Regions from separate parts of the Homo sapiens genome. Here region 1 is linked to region 2. The links are contacts of gene promoters, found by promoter capture Hi-C in human tissues and cell types (Jung and others, 2019). All regions are on one chromosome and are shown on one strand. Each heading gives the region's core, a stretch centred on a gene start or on the middle of the fragment in contact. The rest is flanking DNA. Distances are from core to core; before and after follow the strand shown. Region 1 holds the start of LOC107986042 (a long non-coding RNA gene). Region 2 holds the start of SCN5A (sodium voltage-gated channel alpha subunit 5).

The links. The method cuts DNA at HindIII sites, captures the fragments that hold promoters and counts their contacts. A contact is called where the count stands out against the background at its distance.
Region 1: a fragment that was not itself captured here is called in contact with the fragment with the promoter of SCN5A in region 2 in 1 of the 25 tissues and cell types used here (IMR-90 fibroblasts).

What each region holds. Positions count from the first base shown.
Region 1 is chr3:38,819,325-38,825,391 of GRCh38, forward strand. It overlaps LOC107986042 (a long non-coding RNA gene), which reads left to right and starts at 3,555. Exons shown (of 2, transcript XR_001740555.3): 1 at 3,555-5,198; 2 at 5,860-5,975. The HindIII fragment of the contact is 5,571 bases long and covers 1-4,342 here.
Region 2 is chr3:38,647,394-38,652,969 of GRCh38, forward strand. It overlaps SCN5A (sodium voltage-gated channel alpha subunit 5), which reads right to left and starts at 2,294. Exons shown (of 28, transcript NM_000335.5): 1 at 2,138-2,294. RefSeq lists a silencer at 2,253-2,412. The HindIII fragment of the contact is 3,470 bases long and covers 333-3,802 here.

The DNA.
Region 1 (6,067 bases), core at 307-2,806, 170 kb after region 2:
GTTGCAGTGAGCCAAGGTTGGGCCATTGCACTCCAACCTGGGTGACAGAGCAAGACTTTGTCTAAAAAAAAAAAAAAAAAAAAAAAAAGAGAAAGTACTAATAAGTGCTACAACCTGGACAAAGCTTAAAAATAGTATGTTAAGTATGGCACATGTATACATATGTAGCAAACCTGCACATTGTGCACATGTACCCTAGAACTTAAAGCATAATAAAATAAATAAATAAATAAATAAAATTTAAAAAATAGTATGTTAAGTAAAAGAAGTCAAACACAAAAGGCCTCATATTTTATGATTCCATTTATATGAAATGTCCTTTCATAGACAGAAAATAGACTAGTGGTTGCCAAGGAAGGGGAGGAAAAGAAGTGAGTGCTAATGGGTATGGGGTTTCTTTTTACAGTGATAAAAATGTCTGGAATTAGATAGTGGTGATGGTTGCACTACTTTGTGAATATATTAAAAACCACTGAACCGTACACCTTAAAATGATAAATTTTGTGGTGTGGGACTTACATCTTAATTACAAAAAAAAAACTGTATTAAAATTACATGGAACTCTAGACCCTCCAAAATAAGAATAAGACTAATAAAAAGAAAGTACATGTAAAGCTGGTGCACTCTAAATAAAGCTTATACCTGAGTTAAAAATACTGAGTTAAAAAATATGTAGCCATATCAATTTATGGCGGTATACATATCATTGTATACTGGTTTATACAACGTGCTATGATTATAGAAGATATTATAATTGGGGAAAGGTGGGTAAACAGTACATGGAAACAATACTATTTTTGCAACCTTTTGAGAGTCTTTCAAAAGCCTTTCAAACTATTTCAAAATAAAATGTTATATATTTTTTATATTTATTTATTTAGAGATGGAGTCTCACTCTGTCGCCTAGGCTGGAGTGCAGTGGTGCAATCTCGGCTCACTGCAACCTCTGCCTTCAGGGTTCAAGTGATTCTTGTGCCTCAGCCTCCCGAGTAGCCGGGATTACAGGCACGCACCACCATGCCCGGCTAATTTTTTTATTTTTAGTAGAAATGGGGTTTCGCCATGTTGGCCAGGCTGGTCTCGAATTCCTGACCTCAGGTGATCCACTTGCCTCGGCCTCCCAAAGTATTGGGATTATAGGCGTGAGCCACAGTCCCCAGCCTAAAATGTTATATATTTTTAAAGATATTAAAGTAAGCATGATAGCAGATGGAAGAGTGGTGGCATACAGGGAGGGTAGGGAAGCTCTGGATTCATTGAGCACCCATGCAAGTGGCCTAATTCCTTTAGTGCCAGTTATTCATGGTGATACCTAGTGTTCTGTCGTAGGTTCCAAGGCTGTGTATGTAAAATGTCATAGGCAGCCCTAATTAAACCTTCTTTCCCAATGATCTACTGCTGGATAGGAGGCCAAATCTTAAATGATGAATCTCTTTAAGCTATCCAGAAGTGGTTCGTTTAAGGTACAAAAGAGCAAAGGAGGTGGGTGTTTAACATTCTGATGATATCTAGGCTGGGGGGTATTTGGTCCACTTTAGTGAGCCTGTCGGAGGTGGAAGGAGGCCCATTTCTGAAGGGCCCAGCTTCCTGTTTTAGGAAACAACAGGAAGTGTCTATAGCAGTGATAATGTATCATGATGAAAATTATTTCAAGGGACCTCGTAGTGACACCAGCTACTTACTCCTCTCACCCCCTCCAAACTCCAGTTAAAGGGGGAAATAATCTGACTCTTGAATTCCTATCCAGAGGGAGAAAGCTGGAAGAGGGAGAGGAATGGGTATATCCAAGGAAGGAAGAAATTTTCATGGGGGACCAAGATGGGACCCCCCCCATAATCCTGAGGGATTTCCATTTTTTCCCTGTAGACTCATGAATCTTCTCAGTTGATCCTTATCATTGGTGTTCAGCATAATTGGCCACATTCACCTTGCAGAAGCAAGCCCTTCCCTTGGCTTTTATTGGCAGAGGATCCTCTTCAGCCTCCATAGCTGGTTCTCCATCATCTGACTATTGAATCTTGACATTGCTTTAGGTATTGTCCTAGGCCCTCTTTTTGGTGATTTCATTCTCTCCTATAGCTTCAATTACCTTATACCTAAATGGCATCTAAGCCCTTATCTCCAATACAAATCTCTCCCCTACATTCTGGACTCATATATCCGTGAATGTAGCAAAGTCTCAAATCTCCATTTATGGGTATCTCATAAGCATCTCCGGTTGAGTATGTTTAAAACTGAGCTAGATATTTCTGTTCTCATGCCCCACTCCAAAATGATTCTCCTTCAGAGATCCTCCTCAGTCACCGTCTACCTGGACACTCAAGCCAGAAGTCTAGAGGTTATGCATGAGTCCCTCCTATTCCTCACCCCTACCTCCATTCCCTACCAAGTCCTTTAACTTGAACTCCTAGAAACTCCCTGATTCTACCTCCCTGGCCACCAACACGATACATCACTATCTTCTCTCCTAGATGACATTGGTGAACGCCCAGCAGGTTTCCCCCTATCATTTCACCACTCTGCAGCACATTCTCCAGACTGTTCTTTATGAAAATGAACATCTTGTCAGAAGACACCTCTACTGAGAACCTTCAAGTGCCTGCCCACTGCTGTTACAATGAAGTCCCCAATCCCAGAAGTAGTTTATGAGTTCTCCATGATCTGTCTTTAACAATGCCCCACCTTACCCATTCTTTCATACCCCAGTGATATTGGGCTGCTCTCAGATGCTTGAACACACCACACTCTTCCAGTTCAGAGTCTTTGTAAATGTTCTTGCTTGTTTTCTCACATCCCATTTATTCCCTTCCCTTCACTTACCAATTTTGAGTCATCCTTCTCTCCTCAAACTAAACATTCCCTGACCCTCCAAACCAAGGTGGAATACTCATGTTCTACTCTCCTATGAACTCATTTATTCATTCACTCGATACTTATTTATTGAGCACAGCCCATGTGTGAGGAGCTCACAGTCTAGTAGGGAAACAAAGACTGAACAACTAATTCTGAAAATGACCACGTTAATGCCTCTTGCAGTGACATTTCCTAGAATAACACAAACTCACACAGATAGCAGTTGGTAATTGGCTCTCATCCTTGGTGGTTGGCACAGCCTAGTCACTTCATGGACCTCATGACAATGCAACACATACTCTCCGCAAATGAACTTTTTGGGCCCCACATAGGGCATCATGGCAGGATTTTACTGTGCTACCAACTGCAATAGGAGTTTTGGGGGAAAAATAAAAGAAGAAGTACTTATGTCACTGTGGATAGAAAGCACTTCTTCAGGCAATTTGTTGAATGCCTATTGTCCCTACTATGTAATTATTTAGGTAGTGCTTAATGAAAATCTGCTTAATGAAAATCTATGCTCATGGCTGAAGATATGAAAATGAAAAGATGATGAAGTTCTGCACGCATGGAACTTACATTCTGAAGGGAGGGAGAGACAAAATATGCAATTAGATGAATTAACAAATGCATATTAAAAGACAATAATTATTCCTCAGAAGGCAACATATTTTGCAAAAATTTTTTCTTCTCTAGCCAACCAGAGACTTTTATAATGTAGACTAGTGTTTGCCCCTTTGACTCAATCTCCTCTTTCCATGCTATAGTACAGGAATCTTCCTGTACCTACTGGAGACATGCATTAGAGCCTTCTTCCCAGATAAGTTACAATCTTCCTTCTCTGTTTCATAGGTGTATGTCTTGTGTTCATCTCCCTGAAAAGTTTTATTTGGGCTCCTTAAGAAAAGTGTGACCATGTCTATTCTGGCATGCTTCACAGTGCTAGGCACACAGTAGGTCAACAAACAACACTTCTATGAGGCCAGGAGTTCCTCCAGAGCAGGACCCGTGCCTTGTTTCTAGATCTCCAGCCCTTAGCACCAGGCCTAGCTAGGTAGAGAGGTTCTGAGCTAAGACTTAGGAGAGGAATCCAGGAATTGCTCCTTTTAATAATTCATCAGCTTTTGTCACATGTGCATTGATCGAATTCTTTTGAATACAGGTTATGTTTTAACCTGGATAATAACAATCCCTTATACACACACAGTCTTTGTAGCTTGCAATTTATCTTTGAGTAATAAAACCCAGTGAAAATCTGGTGGATAAAACGGTCCTTACTTTATACGTGGAGAAACTGGGCTTAGAGAGGTTGAGAGGCTTCACCGTTGACGTCAGGCTATGAAATATCAGAATGAGGTCAGAATAAGATCTCCTGGTCCAAGGCTCCTGATACCAAAATTTCCCAAATGTGACTCTGGCCTTCTTTGGTTACTACCCGTTGGGTAAGTCAACTCCTTTCAGGTGGTAACCTGCACCGGGAACTGTGGCAGTGGCCTGATGAGGTGGCAGGGAGAGAATCATGGCCAGTTTCTTGGTTCCTCTGCTTTCCCTGTACCTCTCAGACTCTTAATCCATCTCTGTGTTCATGATGTGCCCTGGACACGGGCTGAGAGGTCGAGGAGGAGCCCAGGAATGAGGATGCGTTGGTGGAGCCTGGCCTTCCTGTCAGAACTCCAGACACCAGGGAGAGATGAGCAGCTTGGTTTCCATGGCAACCTGCCCACCCAGATCCCTGCAGCTGCAGCCCCTGTGGGCCCCTGAGGTGGGGGCTGTGGGTGTCCTGCTGGGCCCTGGGGCTGCAGTAGGCAGGAGGGAGTGCAGGGCTGAGGCAGGCTGCTCACTCGGAGTCGGAGCTTCGCCTGACATGGTTCCCATGGGGACGGCTGTGGGCACATGCTGCCTGTGGTCAGATACCCAAATTAAAACTGCTCCGTAGTTCTGGTAGCTCCTCCTGGGCTCAGAGCCTTTGGAAGAAAGACTGAGTTTTGGGCGCACTAGCCTCTCAAACCTTCCCCGCCCCAACAAAAGGTAGATTTGAGAACTTGGGACTATGGGGCTTTCTGTTTCATGACTGGAGCATTCCCTCTGTGCCAGAGCCTAGAGACACCAAGATGGCTGAAGTGCAGTCACCATCCTTAGGGAGAGGCGAGAAAGACAGGCCATAGAGCTGAAAATTACAACACAGTATGGCCTGGCAACAGTGGAACTCAGAGCAAGAAACAGAGGAGGGATCCATCAATTCTGGGGAAGTTTCAGAATAGGAGGGAGCTTCACTCCACGCAGAGGAAGGGGCTCCTGCAAACACTGGAGGAAAGAACATCCTCTGTGACGTCACAGAGTATGAGGTGAAGTAGAAAGGGAGGAAGGGGGAAGCATGGCTGGGGGATGGGCAGGAGATCCAAACTGCGGAAATTGTGAAGCTGGGGTTGTATCCATAGGGAAAGAGGGGGTCATTCTATGCAGGGAAGGCAGCAGTGGGGCTGGATTCATGATTTAGAAAGGTCTCCATGGATGCTGTCAGAGGTCTGATTTAAGGGGGAAGAGGCATAGTCGCAAAGGGGCACTCATTGGAGGCACAGTTGCAAAGGGTCCTGAGACCCTTCAGGATCTTGAACAACCATTGTTCTGGAAGAAAGTATAATATGATATTTGTTTGGAAGGCCTGGGGTTCTGTAGGCATGAGATTCATTGAACCACCTCCCATCCCAAACCCCTGAGACAGGAAAGTTTCTGGAATGAAAGAGGGACACTCTGTATAGGGGTCATGAAGTCATTTGGGAGGAAAGGGTTTAACAGAGTAATAACACAGCAAATTGATATCTTGACCCCTGGGGTTCCAAATTACCATCACATGGATGGACCAAGTTCAGTGAATCATCAAGATTCGTGAACTCTGTAGAGCAGGTAGCTCTGGAGAAGAGGAACACCCTCACAATGAACAGAACAGAGCTTGAAGTCATACTGATCTGAATACTAAAAGAGTTGTGATTTTGTTTTGTACCCCAGGCTCCTAGTTCTAATAGGATTGGATGGGGGTTGTGCTGCTGTGAGAGATGCAGTGTTGCTCACATTATCTTCCAAATGGATTCACTTTCATTAAAATGACAATTGTTTTACAGTCATAATTGATATCTGTTTTCGTAATTTCAAAGTAAGAAAAAAATAGGTAGAAGAAAAGATGCTTAAATCAGCAATGGCAGTGAAATCTGTAGGC
Region 2 (5,576 bases), core at 1,044-3,543:
AACTCCTATTCACCCTTCAAAACCCAGTGTGGAAGGTTATTTTTGTTAGAATAAGATTCTTGACTATTCCGGCCAAAGGTAACCACCTCTCCTGTGAATGGGCTCTGGGGACACACTTCTACCACTGCACACCCTTCCAATAACCTTCCCAAGAGTGAGCATAAGCCAGCCTCCTCTGAACAGAACACAAACTGCAATTTGCCACTGTCCCTGGCTGCCCTCAGGACTCCCTTCTCTTTGGATTGCCTGGGCACCAGCCTCCGCTCTTCTCCCATCCCCAGCTGTCTCTGGTGCTTCCCACTAGTCCTCCAAGCCCAATCTTCATGCTGAGTGAGTCAATACTAGAATTTTTCCAGAGGAGCTTTGATCAACACACAGAGAGGGAGCCGAGCACCTTGGAGCACAGCAGCTGCCCTTGCCACATTGGGCTGAATGCTGGCTCTTGGCACCCCAGGGCCAGTTCCCCTTCTGCTCAGATCCTCCTGGCTCAGTTCTAGGCTTATTTGCCCCACAGAAAGTAGATCTCAAGGTGTCTTCACATTGCGTGGTGCCCCCAATCCACTGATTCTCTAGATGACATTGAATAAGTCCTTGAGCTCCTCTGGGCCTCAGTTTCCCCACTTGTATGATATGGTAGTGATGACATGATTAAAAGTTTAATGAGGCTCTTTTCAGCACAGAGCTGGACACTGTAACATAGAATCTGTGTTCCACACCCTGGCTGTCACCTGACCTCACCCTCTCCATGCTCCTGCAACAGCAGCCTGACCACCCTCATTCCACCTCGCACTCATTACCACCGATTCATATGCACCTGCCCAATTCTAACTGAGTGGAGATGAGGTCAAACAGATGGAGTTGAGGGCAGCGGCAATGGCCTGGGCCCCCAGTAGCTGGGGCCTCTGCTGCTCACGGTCCCACTAGATCCTGAAGGATGGTGGGAACCTGGGAGAGGGCTTGGGATGCCATGGCATGGTGGGGGTCACGTGGTTTGCCATCTGGATGATACTGCCTAGGCTCACTGGGAGACACACCTGGGGTCTCAGCAGGAGGCGAGCAGATGCCTGGGAATGGAACATAGGCCCAGGACCTTAAGAGGAGATAGATCCCATGGCCCGGGGCTGGGCTGAAGGCACTGAGGAGCACAAGAGTGAGTCCTGCACTATCTTAGCCATGGCATCCTGATCTGGCTGTGCTCTGCTCTCCAACAGGTGTTTGCAAGGCAGGCCTACAGCCAGGGACTTGTCCCCAACATCATTTCCCCCCATCCTCATCACCACCACTAACAGTCCCCACACCTCTGGCCCCCACCAGCTCTTGGCCTCTCGGACAAAGCTTGGCACCTCCACTTTCTTCCAGAGCGCCACCAAAGACGATCAAATAACACAGAGGTCGAGAGCCACCTCCCATCAGGGTGCGTGGATCTGTTCCGGCTCAGAGAGAGGAGGGCAGAGAACTCTCTCCAATCTCACCGCAAAGAGATCTCCACCCCTTCGAGAAGCACAGAGATCAGACAGAGGAGATGCGGCCCCTTTAGGGCGTCAAAGGGCACCGAGATCTCTACATGGTCTAAACGCGCAGAGATCTCGTCCCACAGAGAGGACAGCCCCAGCGGACGGTTCCCCCTGGGCCCAGAGAAAGGGGGTGCGTGGCTTCCTCCCCCATATCCAGCCCTGCTCGGTCAGCCCCCGCAAACCCCGCTCTCTGGAACCACATTCATGGCGCGCCTAGTCGCCGCTCTGACCTTGGGGTCTCCGGCCTCCGGTATCCGGGTCCCAATCCCAGACCCTCCCCGAGCCTGCGCCAGGGATGGCCGGGAAGCTGGGGCCGCAGCTCCCCCTCCCCCGGCCCTCGACAGCGCACCGGGAAACCCGGAAGGAAAGGGAAGGGAAGGGGGGCGCACGGTGTTTAGAGACGTCTCCCCCGGGGATACCCTCCAGCCGGGCGGATCTGCGCCCCTTCTCCCCCTCCGGCTCTCTGGGGCACTGATCGGGGAGGGAGCGGCTGGGCGGACCCGGGGCAGGGAGGAGCACGCAGGGACTGGAGGCTTCGGCCCTCGGGGAGGAAAGTTGGGCGGCGGCAGGCGGAGGGGGCTCCGGCCGGGCCAGGGCTGCCGGGCGCGGGGGCACTCGCTCACCTGCTGGTCCCCCGGCCGGGCCCCGGGGTGGGCGGCTGCTGCTTGGCGCGGACTCGGCTCGGCGCGGGGCTCGGGGCACTGGGCGCAGGCTCAGCGGCCCCGGGGGAGCGATCCCTGCATCCTACGGGCGCCGCCGCCGTCTCGGCTCCGCGGCTCTGTTCGGGCTCCCGGGCTGGGCAGGCGGCGCGGGCTCGGGCTGGGGGCGGGGTCGGGGGCGGGGTCGGGGCGGGCCCCGCCTGGGTTCGGCCTGGGGCTTGGGGCCCCGGGCTGGCTCCGCCCCAGAGCGACGCGCCCAGGGCTCCGCACGTGGTGCTCCGCCCGCTCGGAGGGGGGACACACCAGCGCCCGCCGGGGCGCACACTCCCACACTGACCCGGGGGCTCACAGCCACAGACAGCCGCACACGCGGCCGCGGACAGACAGACATAGGCGGGGGTACACACACGGCGACCCGGCGACGCTTCACCACAGATGGCCACCCACGCGGACGCGGACAGGCTCACATTAACAAACACTGGCATACACACCAGCACCCGCCAGAGTATACACACACACACACGCAACCTTGCTGACTTGGGAAGGCTACCAGACACCCACCCACCCACGTGGACACGGGCATACACTGACACTCATGCCGAGACAGACACACGCTGCCATAGGCATACCTGCACTGACACAGACACACACATGCACCCTGAGACAGATACACACCCCCACACACCCACACAGACACAGACAGACACATCATTGACACACACTGACACTGAGGAAGACACTCTGACAAACTTAGACACCCACATGACTTAGACACACATCCACTGACACACTGACACAGAGACACACACACTCACTCGAACCACACTTTCCTGGAGACACACTTAGTGATGCCACAGAAATCTGCACAATGGTACACATCTACCTGAACACACGGACGCACATGCTGACAGAACCAAACACACACCCAGACCCAGAAGCAAGCAGGCAACCAACACAGAGACACCCACACACGCGCGCGCGCAAACACACACACACACATACATATATATACATGTATATACCTCTTTATATATATACTTCCACCCTCTTGAGCCACATACAACCTTCACCTTGACACATGCAGAGCCTGGAGTCACATACTTACACACCCACTGTTTCTCACTCAGAGACATGGTCACAGGCACACACACACGGAGACATACGCTGACAAACAGTTGCTCCCATGCCCATGCCCAGGACCTATGGGGACACACTTCTTGTTTAAACAAAACAGGCCATCAGGGCAACCCGCTTGGGTCCCCTTCCACGCTGTGGAAGCTTTGTTCTTTCCCTCTTCACAATAAATCTTGCGCTTCTAAAAACAAAAACAAAAACAAAACAAAACAACAACAAAAAACAGGCCATCAGCTTTTGCCCACGAAAAAAGTACAGTCATTGGAAGGGATGGTACACTTTTCTGCCACATTTTCAGGGCTCCCAAAAGCAAGAACCGCTCTTAGAGAGCCAAATGGGTGCCAGGGTCTCAGAGGGCACAGAGGTGCTGGGTTTGGGAGCCCAGAGGCTGGGACCTGCTCCTCCATGATGGGGATCTTGAAGAGGTGGGAGGGCAAAGAGGGGGGTGGGGGACAGCGTCCGTTTGCGACCTGGGTGTGGGGCTTCGTTGGACGCCTTAGGTACATACGGAGGGGCTGCTCTGCTTGCAGGAGGGGATCAGTAGGAAAGTCAGTCCACAGGAAAGTTCAGGACATGGGCCTCTCCGGCCCCGAGTTGAGTGGGGTGTCTGGGGTACAGACGGATGGACCACACAGGTCGGCTGCCAGCCTTTAGCGCCTGACGAGCCTCAGGTTGGCTAGCAGCTCCCACTATCGGCCAGAAGGGGAAGTGCAGGCAGTGTCAACGTTTCAACCCACGTGCAGCCGCCTTCCCAGAGTCACACCTACCAGGCAGGAGAGTACAGTAGCAGGAAGGTCCTACCTCCCCTAAGAACTTCCATCACGGGCTTCTCGGCCTCAGAATGAAGCTTCTACTTGCAAACTGACATTGGGTCAAGCAGGAGACAAGGCTAGGATAGAAGCTGCTGGGAGTAGGGGTGGATACCTGCCTCCCTTCCGTCCATATGTAGCAGAAGTGGGGTTTTCACTCTCCTGTTTAGTATTGGGCAACTGGATGTTGCCAGCAGGAGAGGTGGGCTGAGCCTGGTAAGTCTACATGCACCCTGAATTTAAACAGGGGGAGAGAAGCCCAGGGGATGGGGAACCAGAGCTCTGAACCTGTAGAAGTTCATCCATAAAAGCACACCTTGTGGTCCTAGAGAGGCCTCAGAGTGCAGAGACAGGCAACAGGTGTCTGGAGACAGGCACTTCCTACAAAGAGCCCTTGCCAAGATCTTGGCTACTCCCTTCTCTTTGCCAGACCCTATTTAAATTTTTTGTTTTGTTTTGTTTTGTTTTGTTTGAGACGGAGTCTTGCATTGCCTCCAGGGCTGAAGTGCAGTGGCGTGATCTCGGCTCACTGCAACCTCCGCCTCCCCAGTTCAAGCAATCCTCCTGCCTCAGCCTCCTGAGTCTCTGGGATTGCAGGTGCTCGTCACCATGCCCAGCTAATTTTTTGTATTTTTAGTAGAGACGGGGTTTCACCATGTTGGCCAGGCTGGTCTCGAACTCCTGACCTCGTGATTTACCCACCTCGGCCTCCCAAAGTGCTGGGATTACAGGCGTGAGCCACCATGTCTGGCCAACCCTATTTAATTAAAGCAATAACAGGAACATGTTGTCAGCTGTCAGAGATAAATGTTTTTAAAAACTAGTATGTCCTTTATTCGCCCCTCAGTTTCGCCCAGGGTTTGCCTTTACTTTGCCTCAGGTTCAAAGCTGGGTTAACCATATCATTACTCCTCTCTTGTGTTTTTGTTTTATTTCTTCCCCCATCATCACTCCACTGCCATCTCCTTCTCCACACAGGCACCCCTCTAGGAGCTAAAGTAGGTCTTTATGTGCACATCCTTGTAAAACAGGTAGTATTGTTGTTTGTGCATATGCATTTTCTCTTCTAACAGCCCAAAGCTTTTCTTTTTATGTTTTACTTCCATTGAACCTACATAATGGAAAACTGCACAAATCCTAAGTGTTCACTTGAAAGGGTTTTCTGTTGTTGAACACATCCGTGTGAGCAGCACAACACAGAAACCAAACGTTATCAGTACCACAGAAGACCTCTTTGTGCCCCTTTCTGTCACCACCGCTACACCCACCCAGAGTTAACTACTACAGTCACATCGAATTCCCCTTGCTAGTTTTGCCTGGTTTTGATATTTATTTAAACTGGAATTGTATAATAGGAGCTCTTTTGTGTCTGGCTTCTTTTGATCAGCTTTACGCTCATGAGAGTCACATGTTGCTGCTTGTTGTTGTAGTTCATTCATTCTTGTTGCTGTACAGCATCC